Regions from separate parts of the Homo sapiens genome. Here all the other regions are linked to region 3. The links are contacts of gene promoters, found by promoter capture Hi-C in human tissues and cell types (Jung and others, 2019). All regions are on one chromosome and are shown on one strand. The core of a region is centred on a gene start or on the middle of the fragment in contact, and the rest is flanking DNA. Distances in the headings are between cores, read along the strand shown. Region 1 overlaps DLEU1 (deleted in lymphocytic leukemia 1). Region 2 overlaps DLEU1 (deleted in lymphocytic leukemia 1). Region 3 holds the start of KCNRG (potassium channel regulator).

Region 1 (3,217 bases), core at 581-3,080, 180 kb after region 3:
ACCTAGAAAACAAAGAACTCAAGATGTTATCGTATAAATGTTCTTTAAACAAGTTAATATTATGAGAGGGGAAAAGCATTAGATATGTTTCACTAGAAGAATAAACAATTCACATGTGTAATTTTTGCAGTGGATAGACAAATCTCAGATCTTTTCTGCCTGATATCATTTGCATTTATTCAGCTTATTCAAGTAAAAGACTTATATTTTATTTCAGAAAAGCTAACATGGAACTTTTAATTTTACATTTAAGTCCTGTTTAGTTGTAATTCTCACTCCCCCAGCCCCTGTAGCCTCCTGAACAGCTCTGACTTGCTTTTTTTCTGAATCCAGCATCAGTCCTACAATTAGTCCATTGGCCAGGTGATGGTCATGTGCCTGGTTAGAGTAGGGCAGGCTCCATTTGCTGATGGGCTGTGCGACTCAATGTTCACAAATGTTTAGTCATTCAGCTCCTTTTCAAGGAATAAGCCTGGATCAGGCAAGTAATTAACCTTTGCTAGTCCCAAGGTTTGTTCATTAGAGGCAGGGAAGGAGGAATCTTCTCACTTTTCTTCTCAGTCCTACTGCTCGCCCCAGCTTTATGAAACATGAGCTATGTCCTAAGGGAAGAGCAAGTGGGCCTCAGGTCCTCAGAAAGCACCACAAAACTCTTAAAATATTAAGCGTAGGAGTCTATTGTTCCTTTGTTTTCCTGGACAGGGAAACCTCTTTAACATTGGACTTCATTGTCTGTACCCCATTTCCTGTTCTTACAGTGGCTGTTCAGTCAGCATGATGGCCGGTGGGACCTGGAGGTCCAGCAGCAGCTAAGATGTCCAGGCCCTACTCGTTTGTACCCCTGGTAGCATTCTGCCTTAGATATGAGAGACACTTCCCAGGCTCTTCCTGCATTTCCATCTTATGCTCTGGCAAGCAAATGCCAATCTTGGCTCTTTTCCACTTAAAATAGTCCTTCTACTTTTTATCTGCTGTGTAAATTGGGGTTAGAAATATTGACTTAAACTGCACCAGACTCTGCTGCCAGCTTGCCCATTCTCCATTACCCAAGTCTTCCTCCCTAACAGAACCCAGAGTTTGTTCATATATTGGCAGCAATGTACTCAGCCCGGGCAATGGATCTTGACTGGTTTCAGCCAATCAGAATATCTTCTATTAAGGATAAGGATAGCTTCCCTGCAGCTAGGGGTGGCTGAGTAACCTTGTTCTGACCAGTAAGATTTAAGCAGCAGAAGTCCACTGGGAAGAAGGGAATGGGGAAGGAAGACTCCTGGGAAAGCTTTTGTGCTCTTAATAAAAGAGCAGAGAAACTGCTGTGCTGCTTGCCCCTTCATCTTGGCTTGAAAACAAATGTATTGCCTGGAGCTGAGGCAGCTATTTTCTGACCATGAAGTAATAAGCCTTATTGTTTGACATGTGAATGCAATAAACCTCTACCCACATAAGCTACCTCCATTGAAGGATTCCATACTTGGCACAGAATTTCTAACTGACACACACTAAAATTCAGATATAAAAAAAAATAGTTTCTGTAACGTTTTGGTAACTGATTTCATCTCTTCCTGAACCTTTGAGGTTGAAAGTGGTGGCAGCAGAGGTGGCAGTAGCCACTTACCTTTATCATTAATGATAAGTTAATTTATTTTGGGGAAATGACTCAGTTGTTCAATTTTCCTTCCACTTGCCTCTTCGAGATGATATCTGTGGTAAATGGGTGTGAGCTCTTAAGCAGTAGCATGATCTACTGGCTCACGCTTGCTTTTCAGAGCTGATTGTTAAGTTTAGGGGAATTCTGCAAGTCACTTGTTATATGCAACCATTATTAGATAAGTTATATAAACTTACAATATTAAAAAGAAAGGTAGTACTCAAAACTCACCACTTTTTAATTATTTAAGTACATTTTACTATTATTCTTGCAATTGAAGTTATTTATGTCTTTTTGTTTGTTTTAGAGACAGGGTCTTGCTCTGTTACCCAGGTTGGAAGCCCAGGCCGGAGTGCAGTGGCACAATCATAGCTCACTGCAGCCTCAAAGCTCTGAGCTCAAGTGATCTTCCCAGCTCAGCCTCCCATGTAGGTGGAACTATAGACACTAGCCACCACGCCTGGCTAATTAAAACAATTTTTTTTTTAGAGACTGGGGTCTTACTGTGTTGCCCAGACTGGTCTTGAACTCCTGGCCTCAAGTGATCTTCCAGACTCAGTCTCCCAAAGTGCTGAGATGACAGACCTGAGCCACCACACCCAGCCTATTTGTGTCTATTGTATCTGTAAATGGAAATACTATATAATGCCGCAGTTAGCATGAGAGTACAGATATCTCTTTGACATACTGATTTCATTTCCTTTGGATGTATACCCAGGAGTGGGATTGCTGGATCATATGGTAGTTCTATTTTTAATTTTTTGAGGAGCCTGCATACTGTTTTCATAATGGCTATGCTAATTTACATTTCCACCAACAGTGTACAAGGGTTTCTTTTTCTCCACATCCTTGCCAACATTTCTTGTCTCTTGTCTTTTTGATAAAAGCCATTCTAATGGGTGTGAAGTGATATCTCATTGTGGTTTTGATTTTCATTTCTCTGATGATTAGTGATTTTGAGCATTTTTTTTCATGTAGCTGTTGGCCATTTGTAAGTCTTCTTTTGAGAAATGTCTATTAAGATATTTTGCCCATTTTTAAATAGAAAAATCCTCTACTTTTGACTTTTCCCTTAACCTTCACCTAAAACCTCTCAATTTGAGATTTAGGTCCAAGGCAAAGAAACCATGTTTTCCTGCTTATGTCTCCATCTTTTTAACGTCTTCTTACCCATCACCATGAGCTTTTCTTTTCCCTTCTGTTTGGTAGAAAATAGTTTTAAGTTATTTCATTCTCCTTCCTGAGGAGTTGCTTTTTCCCTTTCTCTGAGGCCATATTGGTGAAAAGGCTGCAGAGAACCTGATTCATAGGGGAGAATGAATTAAAAATACATTTTAATGTATATAAAAAACTATCACCATCACGCTTGTAACTATGAGTCACCTTGTCCACCCTTCCACTCCTCACTACTCCAGGGTTCCACAGACCTGAGAGTAGGGACTGTGGTGAAGAATGACTGGCAGATATACAGCAACTGAAAAGGCACCACGCTTTTATCTCAGTTGCATTACCCTTTGTATATCAGCACTTAAAAAGGGATCTTTTAAATAACATCCTTGAATCCTTTTG
Region 2 (2,850 bases), core at 81-2,580, 140 kb after region 3:
CAGAATCACCTTGGTCAGCCCTTTGACCTTGCCTGGAAAAAAGTCCTCATCAGTGAGTGAGTGTGAGGTTAGAGTGATAAAGATTCTAAAGGAATGCCTTGTTTTGATTCAAATAGTTGGATTAGTCACAGAGTTACTTAATCCACACACATAGTAGAATCCTCCAGCAAGCTTCTTTGTTTTCATCAGAGCTTTTGAGAGATTATTATATTATATCTCTATCTTTTAAAGATAGAGTAGAAATCCATCTATGAAGAATAGTTTTAGGTGCATTCCTGCCTGAACACACATTTGGACAGTCTTATAATTATGTATCTTCCCGAGATGCATTTTGAGCCATTTCTACCCAGAACTTAAAAAAATATTTCCTATGAGTGCTGGAGGTTCTTGCTTCTCTTAACCCACTAACTTTTTGAAGCCATAAGAATATCTTATTAAGGATTATGCAAAATAACGTCCTACAAATCCTGATATTATTACACTGCCCAAAAAACTTCAAAGCATCAGGAAAGTGTTGTGTTTTTTTTTTTTTTTTTTTTTTTTTAACTAAACCAGATTCAGCTGGCTACCCCACTTGGCTACAGAGTACTAAAGAAGAGACTGAACTTGATCCTGCTGCCCTTGCATACACAACACTCCCATTGACGCTAGTGAAGACTTAAGCGCATGAAAGGATTCCAGGATCAAAAGGTTAGCTCTATGGGGAGCTGTGTCTGGCTCAAGCAATCCATTTTTTTCTATTGACAGTGAAAACGTTTTATAGTTCTTTTTCAAAGTTTTCCCAAACTTTTACAATAACAGGCAACTTGTGAAAAAGTGAGAAGGCATCTAATTGAACTATATCCAGAGGAGATCATGGCAGAGACCAACAGGAAGAAAAACATTTCCAAACCACAGCGATATTGGTCAAATCAATTGTATTTGAAGAATAAAGCATTTGAGGCGTCGGCTGAGAAAAATTTTCATTATGAAACTTGGTTGGACTATGAAGCAGAATGTGAGATAAAATAAAACACAGAGCTCATGAGTTTTTATCTTTGTCTGCTAATGACTTATGCTAGCAGGATTATACTTTTTTTTTGCATTTTATGAGATGTATGAACTAGGAAGAAAATACATGCTATATCTAAATGGATTAGACGTGCAGATTCTTAACTAACATTTAATTCATTGCTAGTAAAACAAATGCCTTAAAACATTTAAAAAAGTGAAATTATCTTAAGGAGATAATTAACAAGCAGAGTAGAATAGCATTTTTGAAGAAAGTGTAATATGGTTCTACACTGGCATTTTCTGCATTTATTGAAGATACTTAGTCTATCCAACAATTCACTCATTCATTCTTTCATGAAACCCTGTCTCTACTAAAAATACAAAAAAAAATTAGCTGGGCACGGGGGTAGGCCCTTGTAGTCCCAGCTACTCGGGAGGCTGAGGCAGGAGAATGGCGTGAACCCGGGAGGCAGAGCTTGTAGTGAACCAAGATCGCGTCACTGCACTCCAGCCTAGGTGACAGAGCGAGACTCCGTCTCAAAACAACAACAACAACAACAACAACAACAACAACAACAACAAATTTCTTTGTGCACTTACTATATGCCCAATGCTAATCTAATAGTTTTACAAGACCTCAATTGAACAAGTGTCTGAGGAAATGGATTGCATCTAATAAAGCAAGACACACCAACTGTGGATGGGTGGTGTGTCTAGAGTATTTTGCATTCCTAAATCACTCTTCTGGAGAAAATTTGTATCAATAATTTTGTCTAGCTTCACCTGGAGTTACACATTTTGATTGGTAAGTGGCTTCTGTGATTTGCCTCTTAGAAATACATTATAATGTTATCCTAATATATGTACTAGGACAGACAATGCTACGTTGAACTAACTTGAATAGCATATTTTATAATCATAAAACTGATATAATATTATAGTTTTGATCTTAATCCTCCTCTATTGTATGAGCAATGGAAAGTCTTGGTGAGGAGCTTGTCTAAACATTTCTCTTGCATTTTCACATAATTGGGCTTGACAGTTTCCTGCCATTGTATAGGATAACTTCAGTTGATGGTGATCATGTTTTTGCTTAAGGGTCATTGAATTGTATTAGAAATTTTATACCATATTCTTGTAATCCTATAAGTCATTTTTGAGTTACATTATTGAAAGTGAACAATAATGTACCACAAAACAAAAGTTACTCATGCAGTTAAAGCTTTTTTTTGTACCTAGGTTTAGAAACTACAAGTCCACAGAGAATAGGGCTCGTGAAATAAATGAAAATACACGCTCATCTCCACCCACTCCTTGTTGTTGGGGCCTGGTCAGATCTGGTGAAAACATTAAGCCATTTGCCTTAAGTGGTATTGGCAAGTTAATTTATTCACCTTCTGGAAGGTACCAGGCTAGTGCTTGCAGAGGCAAGATTTTTTTTGGGTGAAGGGAGCAAACTTTTCCACTTAACATGTGCCCATGGAAATCAGGTACTTCTTTTTTCAGCTACCTTAGCTTCTGTTGGGAATTTGAGGGTGTTTTATGGGTTATGTTCTTATACGGTGGTTAAGTAGGCTTGCTGAAATGGATCTAGAAAAGACCCAGGTCAGTCACTGGTTGAAAAAGGGTTGACAGAAAATTAAGGAGATATGACTGAGAGCAGTTTCTCTTTCAGGTCCCCAAATTTCTCCTCTAGCCAATTCACATTAAGGTCTGAAATTTCCCCCATTGGTGTCATTCCGGCCATTGTTTCCAGAAGGGACTTTCAAAAATGCAAATATGTTCCTGTGGAGCATTTGCACATTTGGTGAGTTTGTCAGCCTAAATGAGCAGTTATCTTTGGAACTAAGAAAGAAG
Region 3 (3,229 bases), core at 587-3,086:
TACCTCCCAGGTTCAAGTGATTATCCTGCCTTAGCCTCCTGAGTAGCTGGGATTACAGGCGCGTGCCACCACGCCCAGCTAATTTTTTGTATTTTTAGTTGAGACAGGGTTTCACTGTCCCTTAAGACCATCCTGTTAGCCAAGATGGTCTTGATCTCCTGACCTCGTGATCCGCCTGCCTCGGCCTCCCAAAGTGCTGGGATTACAGGTGTGAGCCACCGTGCCCAGCCAAAGACTGCTCTTAAAGCACCTTTTTGACAGTGAACATGGTCTAAAAAAGGGAAGATATTGTAGAAGATTTCACACACACACGCGTGTGTGGGAGACAACTAAAGGTATTGAAGGTACTAATTAATTAGATTTCCAAAATTTTCTACAGAGAGTTAATTATCACCAAAATGTGAATGGTACATACAAAACCTGGCATTTTCTTGTGATAAGTTTACATTTTTAGGAGAGTGGAGCTTTCAATCTGCCCTTTTCTCCTTTGTTTTTGTAGTTTTCACCAAAGATGATCAACTAGAAATGTTAAGTGGCTATGCAAGCAAAAGCATAGATAGGTTAAAAAAAAGGATCAGCTGGCTGGGCAGGGTGGCTCATGTCTATAATCTCAGCATTCTAGGACAGTGATGTGGGAGGATTATTTGAGGCTAGGAGTTCCAGTTCGAAACCAGCTTCGTAAACATAGCAAGACCCAGTCTCTACCAAAAAAAAAAAAAAAAAAAAAAAAAAAAAAAATATATATATATATATACACACACACACACACATATGTACACATACATATATATACATATATATGTATATATAGAACACATGGCAAGAGCAGGAAATGGGAAGACTACCTTTTTTCTGGCAGCTATGTGTTGTTTTGTTCGAAAGATGGCAAGTGTACAACCAAACCAATCCACTTGCTTACAGAAAGAATGTTTAGTGTAGTTAAGACTAATTTGACAACAGATAAAACAGTCTGTCAGCTATTACAAAGTAATCAGCTGAACACTAATGCTGTTCTGTCTGCTCACAAGAGATAAAGATACCCTCTCATGGAATAAACACCTTGCTTAGAATTCATATAACAAAGAAGTAACCTTATAACTGCTCTCTAGTCTGCCTTATTTGTGTCATAGAGTAAGATATTCCTTGAAAGCCCATTAAGTGGAATAGACTTTCTGAAAATAAGAGTTCTTTACCTCAGTCCTCCTCTAATTTGGTTGAGAGGAGGTAATGAAAATGGGGACAGGATAAAAGGTGGCAACTAAATTTAAAGCACAGAAGAAATGATTTCCTTCTAGCTATGAGAATAGTCAAATTGAGCTTGCCAGGCTGTCTCATTCCTAACATGTAATTCATGATTTAGCCACTAAATTTCTAAGGAGATCATAAGAAATTAAGAAAAACGTTTAAGTCTAGCCTCTGCGTGGTAGACAGGTATGGGGAGGGAGAATGCTTTTCCCCTCCCAGTAATAAAAAAAAAAAAAAAAAAAATATATATATATATATATATATATATATATATATATATATATATATATATATATATAGTTTTACTAGGTTTTCATGGATAAGTTTTTAAATGTAAGACAGGAAAGGGATCTATTTGATGTCTATCTTCAGATATATTGGCAGTTTTCCTTAAGCTATTTAGTTCCTCATCTGTTGCTTTTTCATTTTGTATACTGCAAGTTCCCAGGCAACTCGAATTTGCAAACACAGCCATGGATACACTATTTACCTTACAGTAGTTTCCTGGGAATCTAAGTCTGGTTTTTGTTATTCTTCCCTCCCCTCCACTGCATAATCATGTATAACTAGCAACATTTATGGTTATAGGTTGATTTCCTAAGTGTGGCTGATGGTAGCCTCTAGTTTGAAGTGAGGGAAGAATGAGTAGTCAGGAACTGGTCACTTTGAATGTGGGAGGGAAGATATTCACGACAAGGTTTTCTACGATAAAGCAGTTTCCTGCTTCTCGTTTGGCACGCATGTTAGATGGCAGAGACCAAGAATTCAAGATGGTTGGTGGCCAGATTTTTGTAGACAGAGATGGTGATTTGTTTAGTTTCATCTTAGATTTTTTGAGAACTCACCAGCTTTTATTACCCACTGAATTTTCAGACTATCTTAGGCTTCAGAGAGAGGCTCTTTTCTATGAACTTCGTTCTCTAGTTGATCTCTTAAACCCATACCTGCTACAGCCAAGACCTGCTCTTGTGGAGGTACATTTCCTAAGCCGGAACACTCAAGCTTTTTTCAGGGTGTTTGGCTCTTGCAGCAAAACAATTGAGATGCTAACAGGGAGGATTACAGTGTTTACAGAACAACCTTCAGCGCCGACCTGGAATGGTAACTTTTTCCCTCCTCAGATGACCTTACTTCCACTGCCTCCACAAAGACCTTCTTACCATGACCTGGTTTTCCAGTGTGGTTCTGACAGCACTACTGATAACCAAACTGGAGTCAGGTATTTTGTACTTTGCAGTATTTCTCTTGTATACCAGTTTGTGATGTTTTCTCTAAAAACTTGAAGTTCCTCAGGCCTGTAACTTCTGGAAAAGATGATTATTCAAAATAATGTTTTGGGGTAACCAGTGGAGTTGGGTAGAATGACCAAATAATTATTTTCCAAACTGGGATACTTTTTAGAGTGAAAGGGGCTATTATTAGGTGGGACAAAAGGAATAAATGAAGACTGCCCAGAAAAAACTGAGACTATGGACATTCAAATCATGGGAGAAAATAATTTTGTAGATTATGTTCCATTGCTAATGAATTTGACTTAGAAAAGAATTGCCTTATTTTTAAGAGATTGTTTCAGTGGTTCACATAAAGGCTCGCTCACTGGTTTCTCTTGAGTTCCTTACACACTATATAAGTTGTTCTTTCAGTTTTATGATTCAACTACTGTTTTTCCTTCAGCTGACTTTATTTTTAAACACCCTTAAAGACAGATATATCTCATGGCAAATTTGGTATCCTGTTACAGCCTTGGCTCTTAAACAACTCAAAATATTGGGATAGGCTGTCAGTATGTTAAGGATAGTTGCTCCTGAGTCAATTCTTCACTTACTCCCTCTGTTGTTCTTGGCTGGATCCTAACGCTGATTTCCACTCTGCTGTCACAAACATTTTTCCCCCCGTAAAATGTCTTAATGCTGTCCTACCATTATTTTACCAACTGTGAAAGCTGGCTTTAATTTTTAGGAGGAAAAGAAAAGCCTGCATGTGT

The links. Contacts are between HindIII fragments. The study calls those that stand out against the background at their distance.
Region 1: a contact is called between a fragment that was not itself captured here and the fragment with the promoter of KCNRG in region 3, in 3 of the 25 tissues and cell types used here (heart left ventricle, mesendoderm cells and spleen).
Region 2: a contact is called between a fragment that was not itself captured here and the fragment with the promoter of KCNRG in region 3, in 2 of the 25 tissues and cell types used here (adrenal gland and liver).

Annotation. Positions count from the first base shown.
Region 1 is chr13:50,191,434-50,194,650 of GRCh38, forward strand. The region is part of intron 2 of DLEU1 (deleted in lymphocytic leukemia 1); the gene reads left to right. Among named protein-coding and RNA genes, the nearest start is that of DLEU2, 68 kb to the left of the region's middle. The HindIII fragment of the contact is 7,991 bases long and covers 1-3,217 here.
Region 2 is chr13:50,156,272-50,159,121 of GRCh38, forward strand. All of the region lies in intron 2 of DLEU1 (deleted in lymphocytic leukemia 1), which reads left to right. Among named protein-coding and RNA genes, the nearest start is that of DLEU2, 32 kb to the left of the region's middle. The HindIII fragment of the contact is 5,908 bases long and covers 1-2,850 here.
Region 3 is chr13:50,013,608-50,016,836 of GRCh38, forward strand. KCNRG (potassium channel regulator) reads left to right here and starts at 1,837. Exons shown (of 2, transcript NM_173605.2): 1 at 1,837-2,464. The coding sequence starts at 1,887. It overlaps TRIM13 (tripartite motif containing 13), which reads left to right. Exons shown (of 2, transcript NM_213590.3): 2 at 1-3,229. All of the region lies in intron 10 of DLEU2 (deleted in lymphocytic leukemia 2), which reads right to left. The HindIII fragment of the contact is 16,932 bases long and covers 1-3,229 here.